Linked DNA regions of Homo sapiens: all the other regions are linked to region 1. The links are contacts of gene promoters, found by promoter capture Hi-C in blood cells and fetal thymus (Javierre and others, 2016). All regions are on one chromosome and are shown on one strand. The core of a region is centred on a gene start or on the middle of the fragment in contact, and the rest is flanking DNA. Distances in the headings are between cores, read along the strand shown.

Region 1 (5,743 bases), core at 2,369-4,868:
CGCCTTCCCTTGGGGTACTGGGGCAGGTGAAGGACACCTGGGTTCCATCACTGCTGTGTATCTATGGGACTGGGGCAAGGCTCCCTTCACGCATCATGCCTCAGTTTCACCTTTTGCACAAAGAGAAGGGTCCCTACCCCTTTCCCAATTCCATTGCTGACTCAGACTCGAGTCCCCTGCTGACTCACCCCGCCCCCTGCATCCCCTGAGCAGCCCTCTGGATCTCCCAGACACATGCCACCAGGCCCAACCCTGCCAAGCTGGTGCAACGTGACAGCGTGAGGGGGCTGGTGACACTTGAGGAAAGAAGGGGCCTGAGAGGGAGGCAGTTGCAGACAGAGTGGCAGACCACACTGAGGCATCTTGGGGAGGGAGCCCTTCTGCCAGCCTGGGGCCTGCTGGGAGGACAGGCCCAGCAGGTGGGACAGGAGGGGAGAGGAGGGGAGGTGAGTATGACGTGCCTGCCTGCCCCCTGCCTGCCTGGGCTCCATCTCCTGTCAGCCTTCAGCTCCCTAAGCGACAGCTTCTAATTCCGGCTGTTGGTGCCTCTGTGCTCTGCAGCAAAGTCTCAGCTTTTTTTCAGCTTTGCTGTTTCTTTTCTGTTCAGAACATACTGAGCCCATAGAGAAGTCAGAGCAAAGGCTCCAGGGCTCGAGACCTGGCACCACCACCCCCTTCCTGCCATGGGAACCAACTGCTCCTTCCAAAGGGTACCCAGCACAGCACTTTCTGCCCCAACTCTTCTTCCCTGGAACTGTCTCAATCCACCACGGAGGAACAGGAACAGAAATGAAGCTCAGTTGTCTCAGGGAGGAGGGGCTCTTCAGGACCAAGAAAGTGCCCATTCTGGGTTTCTGCTGCTTCTCTCCTCCACCTGGGGGGGTGTGAGTCATGGCTTGTCAGGCTGGTGGGCCACACACAGGTTCCAGGGGTACACCCTCCTCTGACCTTGGAAATAGAAGGGAAGAAAGCAATTTCCCTCACAGTGCTGAAAAGAGAAGTTGAGTCATAAAGGGAAGAAAAGCCTTTCTTCTGCTGAGTAAAGGAGAGCATTCCTGCCCAGTTACTGGGGGTGGAGAGTCTCTATCCATTCCTGGGGGCCACCCCAGAAGGGGGCCCTAGCTCTGGGGCGGGAGCAGCTTTGAGGGCTGCACTCTAAATAACTATGCAGCTCTAGAAAACAAAACAAAACAAAATAAAAAAAATGAAATAACTATGCAGCTCTTTCCCTGACACTTTCTAACTTGTTCTTGTGTAAAGCAGGCAGGGCTGGTATTTATCAGTCTCATTTTGCAGCTGAGAATATGCAGGCTTGGAGCCACACTGCTAGTAAATGCCTTCAAGCTGGGACTTAACGCTGATGTCAGATCTGTGGCCTTTTCATGACACCAGGAAAGAAAATTGGCAGATCCCTGACCAAAGGCTTAACAAATGCAAAAAGAGAAAAGGGGGGCTTCGTAGTGGATGCAGGTACACATCACACGCTCCTCACGTGACAGAGGGGAGTGGGAGCCTCTGCTCCATGGCCTGGGTGCCAAATTCAAGGTGGACATCCCCGGAGCCTGGGAGCTGGAGAGAGGCAAGGGGTTCAGGGTGCAGGGCCATGAGCCCACTTTGCCACGCCTATCTATGCCCAGTACCTTTCCCCAGGCATCTCCTACTCCAAAGCATCTGCTCAGACTGAGAACACCATCATTCTTCCCTTATTTCCTGTCTCTGATAGGAAGGGACCCCTTAAAGCAGCCCTCAATAGTGTCCCCTGAAGGTTTATCCTGCTTCCAAGCCTTTGCCTCCAGAACCCGTCTGGAATTACTTCCTTTTTTTTTTTTTTTTTTTTTTTTTTTTGACGGAGTCTCACTCTGTCTCCAGGCTGGAGTGCAGTGGCGTGATCTCGGCTCACTGCAACCTCTGCCTCCCAGGTTCAAGCAATTCTCCTGCGTCAGCCTCCCAAGTAGCAGGGACTACAGGCGCGTGCCACCGCGCCCAGCTAATTTTTGTATTTTTAGTAGAGACGGGGTTTCACCATGTTGGCCAGGATGGTCTCGATCCCTTGATCTCGTGATCCGCCCGCCTCGGCCTCCCAAAGTGCTGGGATTACAGGCGTGAGCCACTGCACCCGGCCTGGGATTCCTTCCTTCTTTCTTTTGCAGCCAGATCCCGCACATCCTTGAAGGCCTATCTTTAAAAGGCCCGAGAGCCCTCTCCTGCCCACAACTCCATCTTTTCATCCAAGGACTGTGTTGGTACGTATTTAGCAGAAGAATTCAGCCCTCAGGTGACAACGTCCATTTTTTAAGTCCCAGTGTTGTCTTCTTAAGAGGTGGAACGTCTCGCACCCAGAACCGAGATTCTGTCTCTCTCTTACCCGCTGCCGGCAACAAAATGTGCGGCTCATGAAAAGTCTCAGTAAATTCTGCAGCTGATAACTGCTTTACTCCTTACTTTACAAATATCCATTCCAACCCTACTCACACCCTCCCCACCACCCACACCCAGGCTCTGAGGCGCCCTAACTCTGCTCCGCCCAGGCCTGTGTATCATCCCCCCTCCTCCAGGACCGAGGGGGACCTGCTGGCCGGAGGGAGAGGAGATGCAGTGGTTTCTCCAAGCATCTTACGGAAAATGGAACTTGTGCTCGCCTCCTCTCTTTAGGGGTCAGCCAGTGGTCAGAGCCAGAGCCCTGTGGCCTGGGGGTTGTTTTGTGCTCAAGGGAGAAGCGAGGGGCAGGGAACCTCGAGTGGGTCCCTAGCTCTTTCCAGGGTGGCGGCGCCAGGGAACTTTTAACATGTCCGCGGCACTCCCGGGTCCTAAGGAGCCCCTCCCTGGTCTGGGCGTCTACACTCTGCCCGCTAGGCAGCCACCAGGAGCTGGCACGCGGGCGCGTTGTCGGGGTTGGAGACGTCTGAAATTGGAGAGCGCACTCGGACCCCACCCCTCGTTCCCAGGGAGCGTGTGCGGGTGGAACAATTGTGTGTGAGTGCGTGATTCTCTGCACTTCGAGTGGCAGTTCCCAGCCAGGCTGAGCGCCCCCAATCCGCGGCACGTATACCCCCTCCCCCAAATTACTCCTCATCCGCCTTTCGCTGCCACCCCTAGCTCGCGCGTGGTCCAGTTCTGCGCTCATGGGGTCCCAATTCCTTTCACCCTGGACCGATGGGGGCAGCTTTCAGTCTTCCCCGACGAGGCCGAGGTCCCGCCAGTTTCTAAGGAGCCGAGGGCACCGACTCGGTTGGGGGCGGAGGGCGGGGAGAGAAGACTGCGACTTTGGGATTGGCCCGGTTGGGTGCATGTGGCCCCCGGCGAGCAGCCCCCGCCCCCGCCCCGCAACCGCCGCCGCATTCCCAGGGGAGCGCGGAGGAGGAACCGCTCCCCTACTTCGTGGCCCACGAAGGGGTGGGGGTCAGGAGCGGTCTCCCCCGCCCCGTCCGTCTCTGCCCTGACGGCGCAGTCCGCTCCCAGGACAGCCATTGCCATGGAGACCCCCAAGGCTATAAAGTCAGGTATCTAGGCGGGCGGCAGCTCCCGCGCCGCTGAGCCCCCCAAGTAAGGAGCAAGCGCCCTGGCGTGGCCCGGCCCCCGCGAGAGGGGAGGAGGCGGAGGAACGGCGCCAGCAGCTTGAGGAGCGGCGCGCCCCGCCAGGGCTGGAGGCAGGCGTGCACGGCGGGCGCCACCGTCGCTGCGGGGGAGCGGGGGCTGCCCTGGGTGCGGGTGAGTGGCACGGCGGCTCCAAACCACGAGGACTGAGGGGCGCCGGACACCGGGAAAGCGGCGAGAGACTCGGGAGAGGGTCGAGTCTCTGCTCCCGACGTCTGGTGGCGGGCCAGGAGCGGAGCCCGGAGTAGCGAGCAATCAACACCTCCAGGCGGGAGGCCCGGGGAAGGAGCGGCGACACGCCAGGCGTGCGGCCCAGGAGCGGCGGGGCAGTCGGAGCCTCCGGGACAGCGGAGTAGGAACCTCGGGACCCTCGGCTGCAGCCGCCCACGCGCGGAGGGAGAGGTATCAGAGCGCGGGCGGAGGCCGGAGCCCCGCGGGGCGCGAGAACAGGGGCGCCCCCGTGCGGAACTGCCAGGCTGCCCGGGCGCGGCGGCCGGGGCCATGCTCAAACCCAAGGACCTGTGCCCCCGAGCGGGGACGCGCACCTTCCTGGAGGCCATGCAGGCGGGCAAAGTGCACTTGGCCCGCTTCGTGTTGGATGCGCTGGACCGCAGCATCATCGACTGCCGCGCGGAGCAGGGCCGTACGCCGCTCATGGTGGCCGTGGGGCTGCCGGACCCCGCGCTGCGCGCGCGCTTCGTGCGGCTGCTGCTCGAGCAGGGTGCTGCAGTGAACCTGCGAGACGAGCGCGGCCGCACCGCACTCAGCCTGGCGTGCGAGCGAGGCCACCTGGACGCCGTGCAGCTGCTGGTGCAGTTCAGCGGTGACCCCGAGGCGGCCGACTCTGCGGGCAACAGCCCGGTGATGTGGGCGGCGGCCTGCGGCCACGGGGCGGTGCTCGAGTTCCTGGTGCGGTCCTTCCGCCGCCTAGGCCTGCGCCTCGACCGCACCAACCGTGCGGGGCTCACCGCGCTGCAACTGGCCGCCGCCCGCGGCCACGGGACCTGTGTGCAGGCCCTCACCGGGCCCTGGGGCCGCGCCGCCGCCGCCGCTGCGGCCCGGGGCTCCAACTCCGATAGTCCCCCTGGCCGCCCGGCCCCCGCGGCCAGCCCCGAGCATCGACGACCCAGCCCCCGCCGCCTCCCGCGGCCTCTCCTGGCGCGCTTTGCGCGAGCGGCGGGCGGCCACGGCGGCGAGGCTGGCTCAGCGGGCAAGAATTCGGGCCGGCACCGGGCGCAGGGCAGCGAACGGCCCGAGCTGGGTCGGAGCATGAGCCTGGCTCTAGGTGCGGTAACCGAGGAGGAGGCTGCCCGCCTGCGGGCTGGGGCCCTGATGGCCCTACCAAACTCGCCCCAGTCTTCGGGGACTGGGCGGTGGCGCTCACAGGAGGTGCTGGAGGGAGCGCCCCCAACCTTAGCGCAAGCCCCCATTGGCCTCAGTCCCCACCCGGAGGGCGGCCCCGGCTCTGGCCGCCTGGGTTTGCGCCGACGCTCCACAGCCCCAGATATCCCCAGCCTGGTCGGGGAGGCGCCAGGGCCCGAGAGTGGCCCGGAGTTAGAGGCCAACGCTCTGTCTGTCTCGGTGCCTGGGCCGAACCCTTGGCAGGCGGGCACCGAGGCTGTGGTGCTGCGTGCTCAGCGGTAAACGGCGCCAAGGCCCGAGGCCTGCTTCCCCTACCCTCCCGTTTCTACTCCACTGGTATTTCTCTCTTCTAGGTCCCTCACCTTTTCGGCAGCCGCCCCCCGCAGTCCATTTTGGAACCTGCCTCCCTGCCAAGGCGAGACCTCCACCAGCCCTCCACCAGAAATAAGGGACCTCCATCTTCTTTTTTGTGCTCCTCGGTATTCCCTGCCTAGGTCTAGAGGTGTCGATTGACTGGTTCCGTAGGCTACAGCCAGGAAGGTGGATTCCCCCTCCCCAGCCCTCAGGCTCAATCCTGGGTCGGCCTAGCCATCTGTCGCTCCTGTCCGGCCCCCCTCCCCTCGCTGGGTTTCCCAACAACTGGGCAGCCAGGTAAATAGAAGGGTCCACCTTGGAGAATAAGGACCCAGCCTCCCCACTTTCTGCCTACTGATGCTGACAATAATCCCACAAACTACCAAAGTCTCCTTTCCCTCCAAGTGTGGGAGAAGGAAAGGACGGAGGGGGC
Region 2 (5,743 bases), core at 1,670-4,169, 120 kb after region 1:
TAAGAGACATTACCTCTGGACTTAAAACAAAAAGAGAGACACATTGGCACTAATCTTTGAAATAGAGTGAAAGTTATATGTGACTTCAGTCTAGATGAGCACTGAAAACTCGTTGGAGACAGCTTCTTGGAAACTATGACTTTAATCAAAATGACATGTAACAAAACCAATTTTACCACAGGCTGATCGACATAAACAAAAGTTAAGTTCCTATGGCATATTTCTGGTCACAAAAACGTCACCAAACTTCTGAATAAAGACTCGAAACAAACATTTTTAATACTAAATATTGAAATAAATGTGAGCTATCCGTACACTTAAGAACATTTAATGAAAACAAAAAATAATCATTTACCCAATTTTTGGCGAATCAGTGAATGACTGCAGTCATAGTGTTGGTGGGTTAACTCAAGGAATAAATGTTTGAGAGTGAAAATTTCAAGAAGTACCTCCTACCACCACAAAGTTCAAAAAACAAATAGTAACACTATAGTGGGCATGCTGGGCACTTTCATAAGGCATTGTTTATTGTCATGCATTTATATGATTATCATACACACTTTATATAAACTTTTTAAATAGAGACAGGCCTTACTATGTTGCCCAGGCTGGTCTTGAACCGCTGAGCTTAAGCAATCCTGTTGCCTCAGCCTCCCGAAGTGCTGGGATTACAGGTGTGAGCCACCGCTCCCAGCCTTTACAGATTTTTATTTTACAGTAATTTGTATTCATTCCTTCATTCATTTTCCAACTCACTTATTCTAGTTCGGGGTTGAGGGTGGCCAGAGCCCATCTCAGCAACTCAGAGAGGAACCAACCCTGGACAGGACACCACTCCATCACAGGGAGCATCACATTCACACCCATTCAGACTGGGATCATTTAGACACGCCAATTAACAGGCACATCTTTGGGATGTAGAAGGAAACTGGAGTACCTAAGGAAACCCATGCAGACATGCGGAAAACATGAAAACTCCACATACACAGCAGCCCCGCAATGAATTGATTTTTTTTCTCATCAACATTATAACGAAACGATGTTATACCAGGACCTGCTCTATATTGTGTGAACTCTGTAAAGGTAAGGGCTATGCCATTTATTTTTGTATGCCCATGATCTAATACGAGATATAACACTATTATGCCCTGTTTGTTGAATTCATCTGAACTTTCTTCTCTTGCTCTTAAAAATAGTGAATTACACTATCTCAGTTAAATATCCCAAATTGAGCTAAGACTGCCCCCACTTCCTCCCAGACCTGCTCCTCCCACAGTCTTCCTCTTTCTCAAATAAATGGCAATCCCATTCTTCAGTTACCCAAGCCAAAAATCTTAGTGCCAACTTTGATGCCCTTCTCATACCCCTCAGTCAGTCAGCAAGTCCTACTGGTTCTACCTTCAAAATATATACAGAAATCAACCACTTATCATCATCTCCACTGTTTTCCACCTGGCTCAACTCACTTTTGAGCTGAATTATTTCAATAACCTCTTAACTGGTGTCCCTTGCTTCCATCCTTTGCTGCCTTTAGTGTATTCAACACTACAGCCAAAGTGACCCCATTTAAACCCAAGTCAGATTATGTCTTTCCTTTGCTCAAAACCTTCCAATGACTTTTGATTACAACTAGAGTAAAAGCTAAGTCCTTACAATCTGCATCTTCACCATTTTTACATAATATCCTTTTACTCTTCTAGTTAATTCTGCTCCAGTGACAATGGCCTTGGACATGCCAGGTGCAACTTCCTCCCCTAGCTCTCACCCTCAGCCTTTGTACTCTCCTCAGATATAGAACCTCTAGCTTTTGAGATTCCTTCAAGTCTTGACCAAAGTGACATCTCCTCAGTGAGACTCCAGTGTTCAAGTTAAATTGCACCAATCCCCACCCCCAATATTCACTACACCCAGTTGCTTTATTATTTTTTTTAGTACTGACCACATCTCCACCTAACAGTTTGTCTTTATTGTCTGACTCCCCCACCTTCATCCCATGCCAGAACTTAAGCTTCATGAGGGTTGAGATTTTTGTGTCTGTATATTTGCTGCACTCAGAGCTTAGCCAAAAAAATACTTGTTACATGAATGAAAGAGCCCATGACATAGCACTTATCTAGGTATTGCGGGCACCACAGTGAAAACACATACAGATTTCCAACCTAGAACTGCAATATAGTTTTTTTAATACAAGGAAAAGCCGCAAACATGCAGAAAAAGGCTTTTAGATCTCTATGTTATTGGCATAATTTAGATCTCTATGATATTGGCTAAAGGCTTTCAGATCTCTGTGCTATTGGCATAGCACCTGCCATTTGTTGAGCGCTTATTTGGAAGCAGTTACTTAACAAATACTTTGAATTCCCCCAGAACCACGTAAGGCAGCATTAACATCAGCATTTTCCATACAAACGATTTGCCCAAGGTCAAACAACTAGCAGGTGGCTGAGCTGAGTTACAAACAGACAACATTGCAACTTCCAAACTCTTTGTTCCGCTGGGGTCCCGCAGCCTTCTTCGCTTTGAAGCTGGATGCGGCAGGATTCGCACGTGCCCTCAGTCCACTGCGTTTTCACCTCCACCTCCGGCATTCTACTCCAAAAGGAAGGAGGCTCCGGTGGGGTCTGTTCTGACGGTGCCGATCTCCCCCTCGACTGCTCCGAGCGGAGCCTTCTATTACCTACCAGGCCGTGTCCTCTCAGGCCCAGCCCCCAGCAGCTTTCTCCCGTACCTACCTCAGAGCACCCCCTTCCTTCTTCACCGCCGCCATCCTGCATTCCTGGCTCAGGTCCTCGTCCTGCTGCAGGCCTTTCCTCTGGGCCACAGACCGCCTGGGCTTTCTTCCGCAACCTGCCCTCGGAGCTACAGAAGCGACCAAGGCACGTACACGACTCCCTAACAAACCGGCCACCTCAAGCCCACACCCCTAGCCGCCAAGTTTCAAATTTAACGGTCCCGCGCGGTCGACGTGGCCACGCCCCTCCGCTCCTCCGTGCTCTCGCGTCTCGCCCAAGGCATTCTGGGGCTTGTAGTTTATGCCTGTTTAGTCCGCGAACTCGCGGTGCATAATGGGAATTGTAGTTTTTGGGATTCAATGGCCGTGGAAGTGCAGCAGGCTTAGGCAAAACAAATACCCCCAGGTGCTGTCTTGAGTCGCGGCTCGAAGCCGAGTCTCTGAGCCGAGCGAGGAACACTTAAAGCACCAGAACTTCTTTGCTGTTTTGAGTGTTGGGAGATGTCTCTGAGTGCTTGCACTTGGCGTGACTCTTGTAGGGTGACTACCCCTGCTGTCTGCCCCAAATCTCACCCGTCCGGAGTTCTTAGGCCACTGACCTAGCTGTTTCCTGCCCCACCCTTGAATTCAAAAAGCTGGATTCTAGTTCTGTAAAATCATACCAAATGTGCAACCTTAGGCAAGCTACATAATCTTTCTGACCATCAGTTTTCCTCATCTATAAAGTGATGATACTGTCTTGCTTTCTCTTCTGCTCAGTCCACAAGCAGTAAACACAGCCATGCTATGGTTCCCAAGGTGTTACCTCTTTTCCCCTTCAGGGGACTAGCCTTGACTGACATTAAACTGTTTGTTGCAATTTCAATTTTCTGAGGAAGAAATTGTGATAGCTCAGATGTGACCAGGGGAGTAGAGTCTTTTTGTTTGTTTGGTTGGTTGGTTTTGTTTTAGAGACAGGGTCTTCTTCTTGCTCTGTTGCCCAGGCTGGAGTGCAGTAGCCCCATCATGGGGCTACTGCATTCCAGCCTCCAACTCCCGGGGTCAAGTGATCCTCCCACCTCAGCCTCCGCAGTAGCTGCGATTACAGGCATTAGCCACCTTGAGGAAGGAACAGGGTCATTTAAGAAAGCCCAGGTACAGGGGAGTTCTCCTTTATGACTGTGGGGATGGTCAGAGAGGTGGCACTTCCCAGAGGCAGATGCTGAGGATACTGTCCACTACCCTCTGGTTCTTAGTTCCCAGCTTTCTGTCTTTGTTCATGTTATATAAGTCCTTCTTTCCTCTGAATCATCAGGACTCTTGATTCCAAAGAAGTAGAAATCCAACTTAAATCGGCCTACTCAGAAAAGGGAATTTACTGTCTTTTATATATAAAAGACTTCAGATAAAGCTTAACCCAGGACTCATGTGGACTGGGCCTCTCTCCATTTCTCGCCTCTACTCTTGTTGTTGGCTTATTGTCATTCTCCATTGGGTAACAGATTCACGACTTTATCCTTACAGGTTCAAATTCAGACTTAGGAGTCACCCTGCTTAACCCCTTCCTCCCAAACAGTCACTGGGGATAGTGGATTCAGGGCTTTGATTGTTCAGAACCAAGTCATGTGTTTCACCTTGGGACTGAGAGAGGGGAAGGGGTGATTCCTCATAGGAAATTTTGGTTACTCTTTACATCAAAGTCCTCCACATCCAGGAAGCTTTCCTGGATCATATGAGGTGTGGTGCGTGGGATTCTCTCACTGGCTCATTTTATCTCTTACCTTATGTCAGTACTGGCCTAGCACTTCATTTTCTTTCAACAGGGTGTCCTGTTCATATCTACAGCTTCTCAATTTTGACTATTTCCTACAAACAATCTTGGAAACGTAGTGTTTGGTCTTTTGATCTCAGTCTTTCCTATAACCTAGTCGGATTCCCCATAAACTCTGCTACGATGTAGAATGCATTCAGGCTAAACCCCTTGCTTGTTTCACTACGGGAAAAGAAGGAGGTAGGTAAAACAAAACTCCAAAATGTATGACAGAAGGTACTCTGTGGTTTAATTTGGAAAATGAGTTTTTAGGGATGTCCCATGAACTGATGGGTGGAGCTCCCAGCAAGCAAGGTTTGCCTTTGAGGAAGAGGAATGCTGAAAGCAGCAGGGTTTGTCTGTGGACTTGGGGGAACTGGAGTGAGTGGGGCACAGGATATCCACCTTGGATTGTGACCCTTTGTTGGCCTGGTCCCAAGGACTTACGGTTTTGTGGAGTGAGGGCCTGAGGCAGTGGCCTTAAGAGCTGGTTCTATGTACTTTGGAAGGCTGAGGCGGGCGGATCACTTAAGGTCAGGAGTTCAAGACTAGCCTGGCCAACATGGTGAAACCCCGTCCTACTAAAAATACAAAAATTAGCTGGGTGTGGTGGTGCATGCCTGTAATCCCAGCTACTCCGGAGGCTGAGGCAGGAGAATCGCTTGAACCCGGGATGCGGGGGTTGCAGTGAGCTGTGATCATGCCACTGCACTCCAGCCTGGGCAACAGAGTGAGACTGTCTCTAAAAAGGAAAAAAAAAAAGCTGGTTCAGTGTGATGCCAGCCTCCAACAGCACTGCCTTCGTGCCCAGGCGCCGAGGGCACAGCCTCACTTGGCCATTCTGAGAGCACAGGGAGGCCCTCCCTGGAGCCAGACATCAGCACCCCACAGTGGACACCAGCAGAAGCAAGATGTCCTCCAGTAGCCTTGGAGACAGAGGCCATCAACCAGAGAGAGCTTGAGCAGGACAGGAGGAACATGGCAGATGCTCTGAAAACACCCAGACCACCTAGGGAAGGCTTCAAAAGGAGGGACTCATTCAGTGCCACACATACAGTTGCATAAATATTGCTGCATCCGAGAGTGCCTGTCACGCAAATGGGGACATTTTTCTGCTTTTTCTACTCAGAGAAGGCACCTTCAAAAGTGCCCAGAGAGGCCTCCTCTCTCTAATTCACACAAAGCCCTGTGTGCAGCGGCCCTGGGGCCCTATGGAAGAGCCA
Region 3 (5,743 bases), core at 1,841-4,340, 100 kb after region 1:
AGTATACCTATTCTTCCTCAACTCAAGGACAGTATTTCCACTACAACAGAAAAAAAAAAAGAAATTTTAAAAATAATCTTTAAAAAAATTAATAAATCAAAAATAGAATCGTTTTATCCATTCTTTGTTACTTATATTCTGCCTTCTTTTCCCTCCTCCAGTCACCCCACATCTTTTATTCACAAATTTCCAAAAAAGACATTCTGCATCTTCCTTCAGTCATCATTATAACATTATCTAGTTTTATCAGAAACTAACCTAAGTTTTATTCTTCAGTTTTAAATTTTCTCTCAATGGAAATCAGCAGAGATATACTGGAACTAGAGAATACAAAATTAACCCATTTATTAGGGGTTTTCTCTGTTGTGGGGCTGGTTATTAACCAAGCTTCATCATGATCTGGATGAAATAGCCTTTGGGACCATACACTCCCTATATCCTAATTCTAGAACCACCAAGTAACATTCTGATTATTGATAAATTGATACCAGGAAAGAAATAAGAGATTAAAAAAACAGCCTGGTTTACATGTCTAACTGCTATAAATTTAGTAAATAAAAGCTTATTATTCTCTGTACCTTCTGCTCAATTTTGCTATGAACCTAAAACTACTCTAAAAAATAGTCAGTGTTGTCCAGATGCAGTGGCTCACACCTATAATCCTAGCTACTTGGGAGGCTGAGGCAAAAGAACTGCTTGAGCCTAGGAGTTTGAAGCTGCGGTGAGCTATGATTGCACTACCACGTTTCAGGCAACAGAGCGAGAACCTATCTCTCAAAAAAAAAAAAAGTCCATGTTAATTAAAAAAAATTATTGCTGATCTTTGGGTATATAGAGAGTCTAATTTCTGGTCCCAAAGGGCTCTGAAGGCAGGGTTCTTAACCATATTAGTATCATTCTCTGAGGCTTTGGTATATGTAAGCTTCACTTTAACAACACCTGCTATGTTACTACATATCTTCTTTCAACTAACAATTCAAACTCAGAAAATCTTGATGCTTCCTAAATGTTAGGTCTTTCTTAATTAAGACACAAAATTACTGATGCATTTTGATTTTACTGCACACTGTAATATTAGCTCTCCTTTGACTTCCTTCTTTTTGCTACTCAGTATTCAGCAAACTAGAAGTGTCCACAGGTATATTTATGTATTATCTTCTTACATGATTTTACCACTAGAAACTAACAGTTTTCCGAAATAACGTTTAACAAACTTACCCTTGAGAGCACCTCCTACACGGATGATTGGAGCTCTTGCTGTCTTTTTCCCTTTGCTCTTTAGTTCAGCTAGTGTGCTTCGTTGTGGTACAGAAGACTCAAAAACTTCCTCCTCTTCTTCTTTCTCAAGTGCCAACAGAGTTTGCCGAGACACTCGAGCTTGGAATTGTCTAAAGTAGCAGAATGCACAACTTTTAGTGAGGTGACCACTATTTTACCAGACTCAAAATTTCCAATTTGTTAAAGTAAACAAATTAGAAGAGCAGGCTGGGGGAAGAATGCAGAAATATCCCAAAGAACATGTTTATTCTCTCAGAAGTAAAGAGAGTCACCTTAAGATCATGAAAAGTTTTGGCTAGAATTATTTAACTCTCCCTTTAAATGCCCAAGTTTGACCAATTTAAATTATTCTGAAAATCACCATTAAGTTGATCTGAGGATCAGGTTAGGGTTATTAAGACTAAGATCACAGAGTTTATTAAGATTAGAGTTTTCCCACTAACTTTTTATTAGAAAACTTGACCCACCAATTGTTAACACTGTGCCACATCTATTTTATCACTGTGTCTCTTTTTCTATACACATGCATGCGCGCACGTGCACGCACACACATATACGGTTTCTCCTGACCTATATGAAATGAAGTTGCATATGACATGACATTGTACTTTAGCAAAGCTGGCAGAAGTTTGAAAAGTAAACTTCCTATGCTGCTGCCACAGTTTTAAGTATTATCAGAAGAGATTCTCCATTCCTACCACTGCTTCATTTAACTAGCCTTAAAAAGTATTATCATAAGGGTAAAAAAAACCCCAAAAAACCCAGAATAAATTGCAGGTGTTGGCCAAGATGGAGTATGCCCACTGTACCTTTTCTCTTTCTCTCACTGATAGGAATTAAAAACTATAGACCATATACAAAAAAAGCAACTAACTGAGGGCTCTGAAAAGTCAACAAAAGCAAGCAGACTGTGGAGAGGGGTCAAAACTTGAAGAAACAACCCACGCAGGATTGTTTCCTGTTTTTTTATTCTTCTATTTTCTCTTGTGGTTTTGAACTGTTGCAGTGGTGGTATGTGAATGTAAAACTCAGAGAAACCCCATCTTTCTGGCCTGAGGACTGGGAAAAGAGGACTCTGAAGGCCAAAGAATATGGGAGGAGAACTGCAAAGGAATGAGCTGAACAAGAGGATCTCCTAATTCTGTATGTGAATTGGCATACATCTTAGGTTCCCTCTTGAGCTATGCATGCACAGGGTAGATTCAAAGCAGCACAGAAAAGGCTTTGAGAACTGAACAATGATATAAACCACTGCCCAAGCCCCAGATTAACCCTTAAGCAGGACATGCATGGGACAGACCCAAAGCAACACAGCAAAGGTCTTGAAAACTGAACTGACAGTGGAACCAACAGCCACACAAGATGACAAAGAACTTGTAATATCTGAAGTGTGGTTGTCTACTAAGACAAAAACATAGATATTCTCCAGGGAATATTGGCCAACAGGATCAGAGTCTTATAACATATGGTCAGGATAAATGTCCAGGGTACAAGAATTACTTGACACACAAAGAACTAGAAAAATGTGACCAACTTTCAAAGGAAAAAACAATAAGCAAATGCAAACATAAAATGACCCAGATGGTATAGTTTTCAGATGGAGATTTTATTTTGTTTTTTGAGATGGAGTCTCATTCTGTCACCCAAGCTGGAGTACAGTGGCACAATCTCGGCTCACTACAACCTCTGCCTCCTGGGTTCAAGCGATTCTCCTGCTTCAGCCTCCCGAGTAGCTGAGATTGCAGGCACCCACAACCATGCACAGCTAATTTTTGCATTTTTAGTAGAGACAGAGTTTCACCATATTGGCCAGGCTGGTCTCAAACTGCTGACCTCAAGTGATTCCCCCGCCTTGGCCTCCCAGCGTGTTGGGATTACAGGCGTGAGCCACTGTGCCCAGCCTGGAGATTTTAAAGTACCTAATATAACTATGTTCCATGAGATGAAGGTAAAAACATTTGAAATGAATGGAGAGACAGAAATTCTCAACAGAGAAACAGAAATTATAAAAAAGAATGAAACAGAAATTTTAGAATTGAAAAATACAGTATCTGAAATAAAAAATTTATGTTGAATGGTTTCAATAGCAGGATGGAGATGGAAGAGAAAAGAATAAGTGAACCTGAAGACAGAGCAATAAAAATGGGCCAATCTGAAAAACAAAAAGAAAAATGGTTAAACAGAGCTTCAGGGACCTATGGAATGATATCAAAAGGTTTAATTTGGACAGATTATTGGTAGCAGAGTCGGGGGAAATGGTCTAAAATTTGTGCAACTGAAGTCTCAGAGAGAGAAAGAAGAAAGAGATAATAGGTATAAAAAATCATTTTAAAAATAACGGCTGAAAACTTGTCAAATTTTGTGAAAGGCATACATTTACAAATTCAAAAGGCCCAGTGAAGCCCAGATTAAATGTAAAGAAAACCACATCTAGGCCAGGCGTGGTGGTTCACGCCTGTAATCCCAGCACTTTGGGAGGCCGAGGCGGGTGGATCACCTGAGATTGGGAGTTGGAGACCAGCCTGACCAACATGGAGAAACCCCATCTCTACTAAAAATAGAAAATTAGCTGGGTATGGTGGCGCATGCCTGTAATCCCAGCTACTCAGGAGGCTGAGGCAGGAGGATCACTTGAACCCGGGAGGTGGAGGTTGCTGTGAGCTGAGATCGTGCCACTGCACTCCAGCCTAGGCAACAGAGCTAGACTCTGTCTAAAAAAAAAAAAAAAAATCACATCTAGACACATCACAATCAAACTTCTGAAAACCAAAACTAAACAAGAAAAAATCTTGGACAAGGCCAGAGGAAAATCAACACATTATGTATAGGTCAGGAACTACTAAATGACTACAGATTTCTTATTAGAAACCAGAGAGGGCCGGGCGCAGTGGCTCATGCCTGCAATCCCAGCACTTTGGGAGGCCGAAGCAGGCTCATCACGAGATCAGGAGATTGAGACCATCCTGGCTAACATGGTGAAACCCCATCTCTACTAAAAATACAAAAATTAGCCAGCCGTGGTGGCAGGCACCTGTAGTCCCAGCTACTCGGGAGGCTGAGGCAGGAGAATGGCGTAATCCCAGGAGGCGGAGCTTGCAGTGAGCCGAGATTGCGCCACTGCACTGTAGCCCGGACGACAGAGCGAGACTCCGTCTCAAAAAAAAAAAAAAAAAAAAAAAAAGAAAAAGAAAAAAGAAACCAAGGAGGCCAGAAGACAGTGGGATAACATCATTAAAGTGGTGAAAGAAAAGAAATGTTGGCTGGGTACAGTGGCTCATGCCTGTAATCCCAGCACTTTGGGAGGCCAAGGTGGGCAGACCATTTGAGGTCAGGAGTTTGAGACCAGCCTGGCCAATGTGATGAAACCCCATCTCTTCTAAAACTACAAAAATTAGCCGGGTGTGGTGGCGCATGCCTATAGTCCCAGCTACTCAGCTACTCGGGAGGCTGAGGCAAGAGAATCACTTGAGCCTGGGAGGTGGGGGTTGCAGTGAGCTGAAATCGTGCCATCCATTGCACTCCAGCCTGGGTGACAGAGCAAGACTCCATCTCAAAAAAAAAAAAAAAAAAAAGAAACGAAACGTTGACCCAGAATTCTATATCCAGTAAAAATATTTTTCAGGAAAGAAGATGAAATGAAGACATTCTCAGATGAAGAAAAACTAGGAGAATTAATTGACAACGGACCTGCTCTAAAAGAAAGTGGCTAAAAGAAGTTCTTCAGACTGAAGGGAAATGATACTAGAAGGGAACTTGGAGCTTCAGGAATGAAGAAAAAACAACAACAAAAAAAAGGGTAAACACAACAGACTATTTTCCTAAGTTATTTAAGAGATATATATATATATATATATATGGCTTTTGAAAGCAAAACAAAATATTGTCTGGTGGGGTTTTCAATGCATATAGATGTAATACCTATGACAAGTATACCAAAAGGGTAGGGAATATAAAGGAACTTTTATGGTTATAAAGCTTCTGTATTTTACTTTAAATGGTAAAACATTAAGTAGAATGTGAAAGTTTAGGTATATTATATACCTTATAGCAACCACTTAAAGTTGTAAGAGGCAAAAAGCCAATAACACAAATTAAAATGAAATACTAAAAAACACTCAGATAATCCAAAAGAAGGTAGGAAAGAGGCTGAAGAGGAACAAAAGGCATGGAACAAATAATAAAATAGTAGACCTAAACCCAACAATATTAAAAATTCTATTAAATGGTCTCAACATAACAAAAAAGATATTGTTAGAGTTCACAGAAAAAACAAGACCCAACTATTTGCTGTGTATAAGAAACCCACTTAAAAAATATAAAGACATAGGTTAAAAGTTAAAGAAGCTAATTAACATAAGTGTCACTAAAGTTGGTATATAACCCTCCACTGCTAAATTCAACTAGCTTAACAAAAGGGTAAAAAGAAAATGACACAAAAACCTGTTACGCAAATATAACAGTATTA
Region 4 (5,743 bases), core at 1,577-4,076, 84 kb after region 1:
TAGTCCCAGCTAGTCGGGAGGCTGAGGCAAGAGAATGGCATGAACCCAGGAGGCAGAGCTTGTAGTGAGCTGAGATCGCGCCACCGCACTCCAGCCTGGGCGACAGAGCGAGACTCAGTCTCAAAAAAATATTAATAAATAAAAAAAAATTTTTTTAAAGTTTGTTTGAATTGGGAATGCAGAGTTAAGATCCGTATACTGTGACTGTTCAAATGCCTCTTAAATCTCTTTTATTCTATAGAGTTTTGGGGGGAATTTTTGTTGAACAAACTGGGTTGCTAGCCCCATAATGCTGGATTTTGCCAATTCCATCCCGCTGTGTTGTTTAACAACGTTCCTCCATGCTTTATATTTCCAATAAATTGACGGTTAGAAACAGAGGTTTAATTAGATTTTAATGTTTTTTATTTTTATTTTTGCCAAACCATTTACAAGTAGATATTCATGTTTCACCACTTTTAACACATTTTGAAGAAAAGAAAACCAATTTGAGTATAAAATAGCTTTAAATTTTTTTTTCCCTGAAAAGAAACACTTCCCTTAGTGTCTTTGCTGTTTAGTGTACAGTAACTAAAGTATAAGATTTGGTGGTTAGTGTAAATTTAAAATTACAATTAAACCAAATATTTTGAAGCACTGAGGAATCTTTAAAAAAATACTCTTTCAAATGTCTTTCCTATCATAAAGCATATGCTTATACTAAATTCCTAGTATCCTAGTCCCCCTGTCTTTCAATCCCTTTATCATAATTAAAAATATTTACCATTTATTACATAATACATTTGTTATCAGCAAGTTCTTCTCAAGGCTGTCAAATACAACTCACCTTTAGAATGAGGTTGTTCCTGCCAAATGTTCTCCGCAAGTGAAGTTTCTCTGTAAAGAAACTTGTTTTAAATCATGTGCTCAATACCCACAGAAAGAACTGTTTAATTTTTAAAAGTCCAAGAGGCTTTTCCATTAAATATAATATTTACTCTAAGATAAATTATTACTGTCAATTCAAATTCTCTTAAAGAAGATGGAAGCTTTGGTTATCAAAAATGTTGCAGAAATATATTTGATAATAGATGTCAAGTTGCATTAATAGTATAAGCAGATTACAAAATGGTAAGCTGCCATTTTTATAAAACAAAACAAAAATACAACACAAAAGAAGAGACAGAACAGTGTTAATGGTAATCATCTCTTAGTGGTAGAAATGGGTGATTTTGTTTTTTAAAAACAGTATATGTATTTGTTTCTATAAGAAACATGTTTCTTCAGTGGAAAATAGTCAATGCTCTGTCCTCCCTCATCAGCATCAAAGCTTATGTTGTGACAGAGACTTACAAAAACCATGTCTCGATACTGTAAACGTCAAGGAGACTTCAAGGCACTAGAGAGTCAAAGGTTGGTTCTAAATGCCCTCCTATATGCATTGTCCCTTCCACCTATGTAGTCTTACCTGGCACAACAGTTTACTTGACAAACAGAACTGGATAGAGTCATTCCTGGTATTTTCTGAGACTCGGAAGCAATTTGCAGTTTAGTTGTCTCCTTTGTAGGCATCGTCTCTTCTTGCTGTTTGCATTAAATAAACAAAATCAATGTCCCTCCCATCCAGAAAATGCTATTTTCTAGTTCTAACATTAGCTTTACTGTACTCTTTCCCTAGACATCCACTAACAGTACAAAATGAGTGTACCACAAAAGTCATTTCCAATAATTTTTATTCCTACTCTAAACCAGTACTGTTGTACTCAACTGAGCAGTGCCAGGCATATACTAAATTTCTTTAGGCAATCCCATTTTAATGGAACATAGCTAGAATAAAAAGCTTAAGCCAGAATTAATAACATAATGATTTGGAGTATAACTAAGAAGTCAATAAACTGCACCACTTATTTCACATGCCACAAATTCCATTTGAAGTCACCTGTTAAATTACTTTCCCGCTCAACTTTCCGGCTACTAACAGCTAAGAAACTACCAGAAACTCTAAATGGGGGTTGGGAGGACTTTAACCTTCTATATTTTTATAATGTTTAAATTTGTTTCAATAAATTCTAGTTTTGTGTATGAAAAAAGAAAAATTACCTGATCACCTGTTCTTTCTTGCTGAGTAGTTTGGATTTCTTTTAGCTTCTTCTCCATCTCTTCAATCTGTTTCTGCATTTCTGCTCTCTTCTCTGCACTGGTCAATAGCTCGGCTAGAAACAGTAAAGTTGCTTGAGGTATTATTCCTCATAGTAACTCATTCTGTCAAAAACTGCCTTTGGAGCTCATCTCCTCAACATATATGTTACTAATACAGATGAAAATGATTTAAGTGGAATAAGGTCCTCAACTTGTGGTCTAGGCCTCTATTCTTTATCCATTCAATAAAAAAATAGAATACCTTTGAACAACACAGGTTTCTACTAAAAGGAAAAAAACATTGAATACCTACTATGTGCCAAGCACAGCTCTGAGTACTTAGGTTTCAGTGGTACATAATACAAAGTCCTTGGTTATGTGATACTAACATTCAAATTTGGGGGCAACACACACACAAGAAAATCAGTTTAGGAAAAAGAATAAAATAGGTGACGTGAGAATGTTTGACTGGGTAGGGAGATGGAGGCCAAGGGAGGGCTACTTAAGACCAGTGATCAGGGAAGATCATTCTGATAAAGTGACAGTATTAAGCTGTAATTTAAATGATAAGGGGCCAAAGTTCTGGGGAAAGATTCTAGGCTAACAAACTAGGTGGCACAAAGGCCCCAATGCAGGAAAAGACCACTGTGTCTAAGAATCCAAAGGAAGTCCAGTGTAGTTGCAGCATAGTAAGAGGGTGAATAGAAAAAGATGGGGTTGGAGAGGTAGGTAAAGGCTAAGCCACATGGAGTTTTGTTTGTTTTTGGAGATGGGGTCTTGCTATATTGCCCAGGCTGGTCTCAAACTTGTGGGCTCAATCCTTCTGCCTCACTCTCCTGAGTAGCTGGGACTACAGGCACATGCTACCATGCTTGGCCATGCAGGGTTTTGCAGGTTAGGGTAAAGAGGCATAGATAGTAAGCCATGTGCTTATTAGTCAATTAATGAATGATGGAGTGTGACTGAAAAGTCTGAGGTGAGTACACTAAGGAGGCTCAGGAGATAGAAAAGAATTAGAGGACAGAAATCTGAAAGAAGCTAAAGTTTTTGAAAGAAGAGGGAAAAAATGATTTGGAAGTGCAACGCAAAGAAAAAACAACCTTTGTGTAGGCCCTGATTGTGGCTTCCTCTTTTCTTGTATTTTTCCCTGAGAGTAAGTAGTTGGCAAGTCTTTGAAGTCAGTTTTTGACAGTAACTAGAAACCACATTTATTGAAATGAGGATTTATGTAAGGGTACAAACTTATACACAGATGGGAATTTATACAAGTTCATGAAATAGATTCAGAGACCAGCTTAGAAATAAGCATTAAGGTCTGCATGGTGGCTCATGCCTATAATCCCAGCACTTTGAAAGGCCAAGGTGGGAAGGATAGCTTGAGCCCAGGAGTTTGAGACCAGCCTGGGCAACACAGGGAGATCCCATCTCTCTATTTAAAAAAAAAAAAAACACAATAGAAATGAGTATTAAAAAATTCTCAGAGGTCAATGCCTTCTTATTCCTAATTAAATCCCATGTAATCTAGAGTAGGTCCTTCTTTGGCTAGTTGAAAACAAAATGTACCTTTTCTTTTTCCCACAGAGATGAGAATTCACCATGTTGCCCAGGCTGGTCTTTTTTTCCCAAAGTGCTGGGATTACAGGTGTGAGCCACTGTGCCTGGCCCTAAAATGGACTTTCATTTTCCTTCTATATATCTGGTACAGACTAAGCTTTTCCCTTAGGAAACAGTTTTTATCTAGATACCTAGTTCCTTTTCTGGTTCATATTTGGCCACCCTCCTAGCCTATTTCTTTGCTGGAGTGGTTCTCCTTTTTTAAAAGCCTTACTCAACACCTTGCTTTGCAACCATCCCTCTCTTCTACCTAGACACACAAGTTCCATTTGAACCCAGAGCACTTTTGACAATCTTGGATGACACTAATTAGTGTAACAAATGAAGGCAATTTCAAACTTACTAACAGTCTGCTTTACCAAAGTTTGCTTCCAGGTTGTCACCTGGAACTCAGAAAAGATTGCTCCTCAAAGTATAAGTGATGGTTAAGTTTCCCAGCTAACCCCACAAACACCACATCCTGTTAAGAGAGCTGAGCTATATTAGTAGGTTATTCTGGATACGGATGTATAAAAGAAACATTACTTTCTCCTTACAGATCCTAATAAAAAATGTCTAAATGGAAGTGGACCCTCCCCTACCTCATTTTCTGTACCCTTCTTTATTCTCCTTCACCTTCTCATGCCTTAAGCCCCATATGCCTTACTTCCCTACTTTCCAGCCCATTCTGCCCTACCTCTTGCCTTCAAGTACTCCAGGCTCCAGAATCAGAACTGCTTCCTGTTTCCCAAAAATTCCCCATATCTCAATTTTTAAACCTTTTCCTTTAATTTAGAAATATAATGTCTTTAAAAAACAATACGAATATCTATAATCTAAATCACTGCAGTATGACCTACTATGTTAATCTAAATAAGCCCTTGGAGAAATTTCAGACAAAGTATCAAAGGTAAAGTGAAATATTTCAAGCAATAACATTAGGAAAAGTACTTAATAGGGATGCATGGAATGTACATATATGCATGTCAGGGATCATAGCTGCTTGCTTATTGTATTGGGGAATATAAATTGTTCATACAGTTCAGAACTTCTTCCTTTACTTCTAAACATACTCAGTGCCCCCACACCCCAAGGAGTTTTCATGGAAGGCAGCAATGGGAGTTTGGCTGATACACAGAAACAGTACAACCATAGAAGGCAGCAGTGGGATTTTGGCTGATACACAGAAAGAAACAGTACTACCATAGAAACATCATACAAAGGTACAAACTATAAGGTTAGTTTTCTTCAGACTTAATAGGTCAGCTCAACCTTCACACAACTAAGTTAAGTCCTCTTCACAAACTTGAATTACACACACCTTCCCTTTGCTCTTTTAATTTCTTCCGGAAAACTTCAGCCCGAATTTCTTCAAAGGAGAATTCCCCTACTCCTGCATAAATCTTCTCCTTACAATACATCATCTTCTCTTTCTTCTCCTCAGACGCTTGCTGATGGCTCTGAACCCTTTGTAGAGGATCTCCTTCTTCCTTTCCAGGCTTTCTGGTGCTTAGGATGTGGTTTATACTAGGTTCAATTTTACATGGTGTCCTAAAGAAGCAAAATTACTATTATTCATATGGGTCAAAATAAAAAAAATCAATAAGATTGATAAAAGAAGCTAAAAATAATTTACAAGGGCCATCAATAATTATGTTCTGCAAATCTGGAGGCCTTACATTACCTGACTTCAAACTATGCTGTAAGGCCATAGTCACCAAAACAGCATAATACTGGTATAAAAACAGGCATATAGATCAATGGAACAGAATAGAGAGCCCAGAAATAAAGCCAAATACTCACAGTCAACTGATCTTTGACAAAGCAAACAAAAGCGTAAAGTGGGGAAAGATACTCTATTCAACAAATGGTGCTGGGATAATTGGCAAGTCACAAGTAGGAGAATGAAACTAGATCCTCCTCTCTCACCTTATACAAAAAATCAACTCAAGGTGGATCAAAGACTTAATTAAATCTAAGATCTGAAACCATAAAAATTCTAGACGATAACACTGGAAAAACCCTCCTAGAC
Region 5 (5,743 bases), core at 974-3,473, 67 kb after region 1:
ACATGGGTGGTAGGCAGTAGGAGTGGCCCTGGCACTCGGTTACAGAGTTAGTCATGTGTTTGCACATGTATGTGTATATTCTTCAATGCTGTAACACAAAAATGTTACATTTTACTTGACTTGGTGATATTTGAAAACTAGGTCATCTATTCTAGGAGTCGGTATCAGTAAACAGTAGCTTTTATAGCTTATCTAGATAATAAAGAGATTAAGAAACCCTCTCCATATTTGCTCAGGCTTGTTTTACACTTACCTGGTAGGGAGAAGAACAGTTAGCCAGGATCTTTTGTCCTTCCAGGATCTGTACAGTCCGAAAGCCGCTGAGGGTAAAAACATCCAGCTGCACCCTAAGGTCAACACTGTAGGAAAAGTCCACTATCTTCAAAGCTTGATTGTTCTTGTTACAATCATAGGGATCGTGGATTCTGAGCCCAGATTTAAGAGAAGGAGATAATAAAAATAGGCCATGAAAGAAGCTGCATAGCTGGTCTTTAAAAAAAAAAGGTACCTTGGGTACATCTTAGCTATGCCAACAACTCCCTCCAGTGGTTAATTTTGAAAATGCACCTGTAAGACAGAGCAGTGGCAGTGTCCACCCAATGCGGAAGGAATGTCACCACTTTGGTGACACAAAGTATATTTCAATCACGGTGCATGGCCACCATTAAACATTTATCAAGCTTCCATATTATATAAAGTAAGTATGGAAGCAGAGCACAGGCTTCTTCCCTGTACTGTACACATTAACACATACAATTGCAATGATTTATACACTGACAGGAATTATGATGGAGGAAATTAAAATTTTATAGGTGTCATAGCCTTTCTTGTTTACTATTCCAGATAGGCTTTCCAAGTATTGTTTAGATTCTTCCTTCCAGAGTTTAATGGAAAACAATGCAAGTCTGTTTTATAAAGTCCTATCTGTATTGTAAAATTTCTTGTAAAACACCATATTTTATCTTACTCTTACTTGTAATTCCAGTTATTTACTAAAAAAATCTTTATAATACTAATTAATTATCAATTAATTTTGTTTTCCTTGGGTTTATCTATCCTATGCAATAATGCTATTCTCCAAGGGGACATAGGAACTGTTTATAAATGAAAAGAGTGGGTTTTCATGTGTTCCTTTTGTCTGTTTTTCTCAATTAATTCCCTCAAACTCCTGATATTGGTGCAATATTCCTAAATACAGTCTTTAACTACTCCAATTACATACCTCCACGGCACAGAATGATCTATGTATTTTACTTTAAAATTGATAATTGCTCTCATTTTTCCTTGGCACAAGAGCCAACCTTTTTTGGCCACCATAAAACTATACTATAATTAAAAAAAAAAAAAAATATATATATATATATATATATATAGTATATATATAGTTATAGGGATCGTGGATTCTGATATATATAAAATATACATATGTATTTTATATATATATGTAAAGTGTGTGCATGTGTGTGTTTTGTTTGGTTTCTTAGACAAGGTCTACACTCTTGTCACTGAGGCTGGAGTACAGTGGTGCGATCTCAGCTCAGTGCAGTCTCTGCCTCCTAGGTTCAAGCGATCCTCCCATCTCAGCCTCCCGAGTAGCTGGGACTACTGGTGTGTGCCACCATGCCTGGCTAATTTCTTAATTTTTTGTAGAGATGAGGTCTCATTATATTGCCCAGACTGGTCTTGAACTCCTAGGCTCAAGTGATCCTCTGCCTTGGTCTCCCAAAGTGCTGGGATTACAGATGTGAGTCACCATGCCCAGTGTAATTGTAAAATATTTATATAACTTTGGAGGCATAGGGAAAAAATGTCTCATAGATTAATAAAAAGAAGCATGCATGAAGGTGTCCTAGCCCTCTAATCAGCTACTCACTCACTGTTACTTTGGGTAGGACATTCCATTTTTTTGGATCTCATTTTCCTCACAAAAAATATGCAGAAACTAAAGTAAGCAACTAAACTAAGCAATTTCAAAAGGTTCTTTCTGGCTTTTATTTTATTTTTGTAGAGACAGGGTCTTGCTATGTTGACCAGGCTGGTCTTGAACTCCTGGCCTCAAGAGATCCTCCTGCCTCTGCCTCCCAAAGTGCTGGGATTGCAGATGTGAACCACTGCATCCAGCCCTTTCTGGCTTTTGTTGTTGTTTTGTTTTGAGATGGAGTCTCGCTCTGTCACCCAGGCTGGAGTGCAGTGGCATGATCTTGGCTCACTGCAAGCTCTGCCTCCCGGGTTCACGCCATTCTCCTGCCTCAGCCTCCTGAGTAGCTGGGACTACAGGCACCTGCCACCACGGCTGGCTATCTTGTTGTATTTTTAGTAGAGACAGGGTTTCACTGTGTTAGCCAGGATGGTCTTGATCTCCTGACCTCGTGATCCGCCCGCCTCGGCCTCCCAAAATGCTGGGATTACAGGCGTGAGCTACTGCGCCCGGCCTCTGGCTTTTTTTTTGAGACAGAATTTTGCTCTTGTTGCCCAGACTGGAGTACAATGGTGCGATCTCAGTTCACCACAACCTCTGCCTCCTGAGTTCAAGCAATTCTCCTTCCTCAGCCTCCCAAGTAGCTGGGATTACAGGCATGCACCACCATACCTGGCTAATTTTGTATTTTTAGTAGGATGGGGTTTCTCCATGTTGGTCAGGCTGGTCTTGAACTCCCAACCTCAGGTGATCTGCCCGCCTCAGCCTCCAAAAGTGCTGGGATTGATTATAGGCATGAGCCACTGTGCTCGGCCCCTTTCTGGCTTTTAATTCCTTATGAATCTATGTGAAATTTCTGATTAAATTTGATAAGCAGTGACAAAGTAAAAAGCAATGCCTCTTTAATACTATGGACTTTCCTAGAGCCTCTAGTGGCTGAGAGAAGGGTTATCGTACTTCATTAGACCACAAATGGCCAATTCTAAAAGGCTTAGAAAAAACCTCTGCTTCCAATTTCCATAGCCCTGGGAATTTCAGCACTGTCATTTTAATGTTAAGTAGAGTGAAAATATACCAGGGGTTCTCATACTTGGAAATTTGGGGGGATTTTTGGTGGTCACAACGGCTTAGGGGATTGTTACTTGCACTTAATTGGGTGGGTGGGGGGGAATAGGAATATAAAACATCCTGCATTGCTTGGAACACACCTGCACAAAGAATTGTCTCACCCAAAATACCTATGGTGCCCTGGATGAGAAATGCTGCTACATTATGTCTGGGAAAGCCTTTGACTCTGCTATCTCAGGGGAGAAGGTGGGATTCTCTGGTTCTTTTGGTTACAATCACAGGAACACATTGAGGGTTCTTTTAATTTCCACGTTAACTATAATTTAGAGTCTAATTCAATCTCTTCTGATAGATTAAGTATTCAGAAGAAATGTAAAGAGTAAGTCCAGCTATTAGTGTATACCAGTGGCCTCAGAAACAAAGTTAACACCTCACCCAAGACACAGGGTTGGGCAGACACAGCATCTTTAAACCAGGCTGCTTTTACTCAAATACTATAACACCAATGATCACTAAAAGAATATAGTAGTCCTCTAGTACTTTTCACAAAGCAAAAATGTTGGACTGTTTTTGCCTAGTTAATGCCTGAACGTGATCTATATTTTCTCAGTCCTTAGTATTCATTTATTATTTCCTGCTCTGTGCTCACCCCTTGAACCTGATGGACACACTGGGTTTAATTTGAACACTAAACCCCATTCCTTGGCATAGTTTGTATTTGAACTCTGGTTTTACCCACTTCTCTTGGCTAACAGGTCAGTTAGGCCTGACTTAAGCTTTGGTCTATGAAACTGAGTAGTGCCTTGATTTTGCTGGCATCCTCGCTAGAGTGGCACTGGTCCCACTCAAAGAATGACTAAACAATCCACTTTATATTCCTCAAAATATTCATATTTTATATCTCATCTTGACATATATCATCACAATACTCAGTGATTAATTCTTTTATCTGATTTAATCTATTTCCTCAATGTGTTTATTTCTTTGAATTATTTTAAACTATTCTTAATGATTTTTGACTTTTAGGTAAATACTCTCTTAACATAATATGTTCCTCGATATGGCATTTATCAAAAGGCTTTAAAAATTGGCAACTTGGCCGGGTGCAGTGGCTCACGCCTATAATCCCAGCACTTTGGGAGGCTGAGGTGGGCAGATCACTTGAGGCCAGGAGTTTGAGACCAGCCTGGGCAACATGGTGAAACCTCATCTCTACCAAAAAATACAAAAAATTAGCCAGGTGTGGTGGTGCGCGCCTGTGGTCCCAGCTACTAGCAAGGTTAAGATGGGAGAATCGTTTGAACCTGGGAGATGGAGGCTGCAGTGAGCCAAGATCATGCCACTGTACTCCAACCTAGGTGACAGAGTGAGACCCTCGCCTCAAAAAAGAAAAAAAAAAGTGGCAACTATCCATGTTTTAAGAGACAGCTGGCAGAATTATAAGAATGAAAAGGACCAACCTGTTTCTGAGAATCAGACACCTTGGACTCAAGTCACCATGGACTATTTCTGCTTTGTGTAGCATCTCCACTATTGTCAAAAGGTTATAAATAATCAACACTGTTATTTCATGGGTAATATATTCACTGTGTTGGAGAAGATCCTGGAAATTGAAGGACAGAAAACTCACTATTTCTCAAGTTTGGCAGATCGTAGTTATACTCAATACCTTGAAAACTGATGGTTTGTAGTCTTCCTTGTTCTCTACTGGAACGTAGGCACCTCTGTAGACTGAGTCTATGTCCCAGTTTTAATAACACTGCCATCTCCCATAAGATTGTTTGTAAGGATTTAATGACATAATGATGAAGGGCATCAAGCATGAGCCTGGCCCAAAATAGGTACTTAATAAATGGATTTAAAATACCCTCATTCCAACCATTTTTGAGAATTCATATTATCATCAAAATCCATAGCAAACCTTCTTAAGAACAAACCGAAGAGTAAAATGACATATTGTGTCTGGGTTTTAAAAACTATCCAGTGGGGGTAGTATAGCTAAAACAAGAGTGACCATGAGCTAAGATTATCATAGATGACTAGTTCATGGGAGTTCATTGTACAATTCTACTTTTATTTATGCTTGACAACGGACCAAAAAAAGTTAAAAAAATACCAAAGAGATCTTTGGTCAAAATAACGAGAAAATTATCAATGCTTCTAACTTATACTTGAATTGGTCTATTTCTAGAAGATTGACAGGAATTTTGTACTAAATTCCTTTGCTAAATGGAGCACAAATCTCTCTACTTCAGGACTTTAAATTATGTTTTTAGTATTACAGACCTGAAGGGTGAAGCAGTTTATATATTGGTGCCAAACAATACAGCCATCTTGATATTGATAACAGCTGCAAAAATGATCAAAATCTTCATTTAAACGTTCCTTTAACTTGAGGTTGATATAAAAGTCCCATGGGACAGGTTGAGAAGATACCTGTAAGACATTGTATTTTAAAAATAAGTTCAGTTAAGTCTATGGTTATGGCTGGCAGGTTGAAACACATTCCTTCCAGCCCTTCTGATAGAGAAATAATAAAGAGATATTTTTAAAGGCATAAATCTACTATAAAAGACACAATAACAACAAATTCTGGAAAGAGGATAAGCTGGAAAGAGAACAGGAGGTAACAATCCAATTAGAATAAAAACTGATTTTGGCAGAGGAGAAAGCTGAGCTACATTTACACTACAAGGCTATTTTCCTATACTATATAACTGGCAGCACCAATTACCCATGGAAGTGAGGCTGAGGGTG

What was found. Contacts are between HindIII fragments. The CHiCAGO score rates a contact against its expected background, and 5 or more counts as called.
Region 2: the fragment with the promoter of BUB1B here is called in contact with the fragment with the promoter of ANKRD63 in region 1 in 2 of 17 cell types (naive B cells and total B cells); the score reaches 5.0 in naive B cells.
Region 3: a contact is called between a fragment that was not itself captured here and the fragment with the promoter of ANKRD63 in region 1, in 1 of 17 cell types (M0 macrophages). The highest score is 6.4, in M0 macrophages.
Region 4: a fragment that was not itself captured here is called in contact with the fragment with the promoter of ANKRD63 in region 1 in 7 of 17 cell types (M0 macrophages, erythroblasts, M1 macrophages and 4 more); the score reaches 10.3 in M0 macrophages.
Region 5: a contact is called between a fragment that was not itself captured here and the fragment with the promoter of ANKRD63 in region 1, in 17 of 17 cell types (M2 macrophages, megakaryocytes, M0 macrophages and 14 more). The highest score is 40.9, in M2 macrophages.

The regions. Positions count from the first base shown.
Region 1 is chr15:40,280,939-40,286,681 of GRCh38, reverse strand. ANKRD63 (ankyrin repeat domain 63) reads left to right here and starts at 3,618. Exons shown (of 1, transcript NM_001190479.3): 1 at 3,618-5,743. The coding sequence starts at 4,096. The coding sequence ends at 5,238. It also overlaps a transcript of PLCB2 not described here. RefSeq lists silencers at 3,657-3,726, 3,797-3,856, 3,867-4,136. The HindIII fragment of the contact is 15,046 bases long and covers 1-5,743 here.
Region 2 is chr15:40,158,245-40,163,987 of GRCh38, reverse strand. BUB1B (BUB1 mitotic checkpoint serine/threonine kinase B) reads right to left here and starts at 2,919. Exons shown (of 23, transcript NM_001211.6): 1 at 2,733-2,919. The coding sequence starts at 2,767. RefSeq lists enhancers at 1,764-2,528, 2,536-2,665, 2,686-2,785, 5,659-5,743. The HindIII fragment of the contact is 2,113 bases long and covers 2,011-4,123 here.
Region 3 is chr15:40,179,359-40,185,101 of GRCh38, reverse strand. It overlaps BUB1B (BUB1 mitotic checkpoint serine/threonine kinase B), which reads right to left. Exons shown (of 23, transcript NM_001211.6): 6 at 1,219-1,388. It overlaps LOC107984763 (a long non-coding RNA gene), which reads left to right. Exons shown (of 3, transcript XR_001751506.2): 2 at 4,901-5,074. Among named protein-coding and RNA genes, the nearest start is that of BUB1B, 21 kb to the right of the region's middle. The HindIII fragment of the contact is 4,331 bases long and covers 925-5,255 here.
Region 4 is chr15:40,196,064-40,201,806 of GRCh38, reverse strand. It overlaps BUB1B (BUB1 mitotic checkpoint serine/threonine kinase B), which reads right to left. Exons shown (of 23, transcript NM_001211.6): 9 at 5,033-5,262; 10 at 2,080-2,192; 11 at 1,448-1,563; 12 at 827-876. All of the region lies in intron 1 of LOC107984763 (a long non-coding RNA gene), which reads left to right. Among named protein-coding and RNA genes, the nearest start is that of BUB1B-PAK6, 18 kb to the left of the region's middle. The HindIII fragment of the contact is 2,010 bases long and covers 1,822-3,831 here.
Region 5 is chr15:40,212,178-40,217,920 of GRCh38, reverse strand. It overlaps BUB1B (BUB1 mitotic checkpoint serine/threonine kinase B), which reads right to left. Exons shown (of 23, transcript NM_001211.6): 19 at 5,273-5,422; 20 at 4,447-4,589; 21 at 254-425. All of the region lies in intron 1 of LOC107984763 (a long non-coding RNA gene), which reads left to right. BUB1B-PAK6 (BUB1B-PAK6 readthrough) reads right to left here and starts at 493. Exons shown (of 10, transcript NM_001128629.3): 1 at 254-493. The HindIII fragment of the contact is 3,082 bases long and covers 683-3,764 here.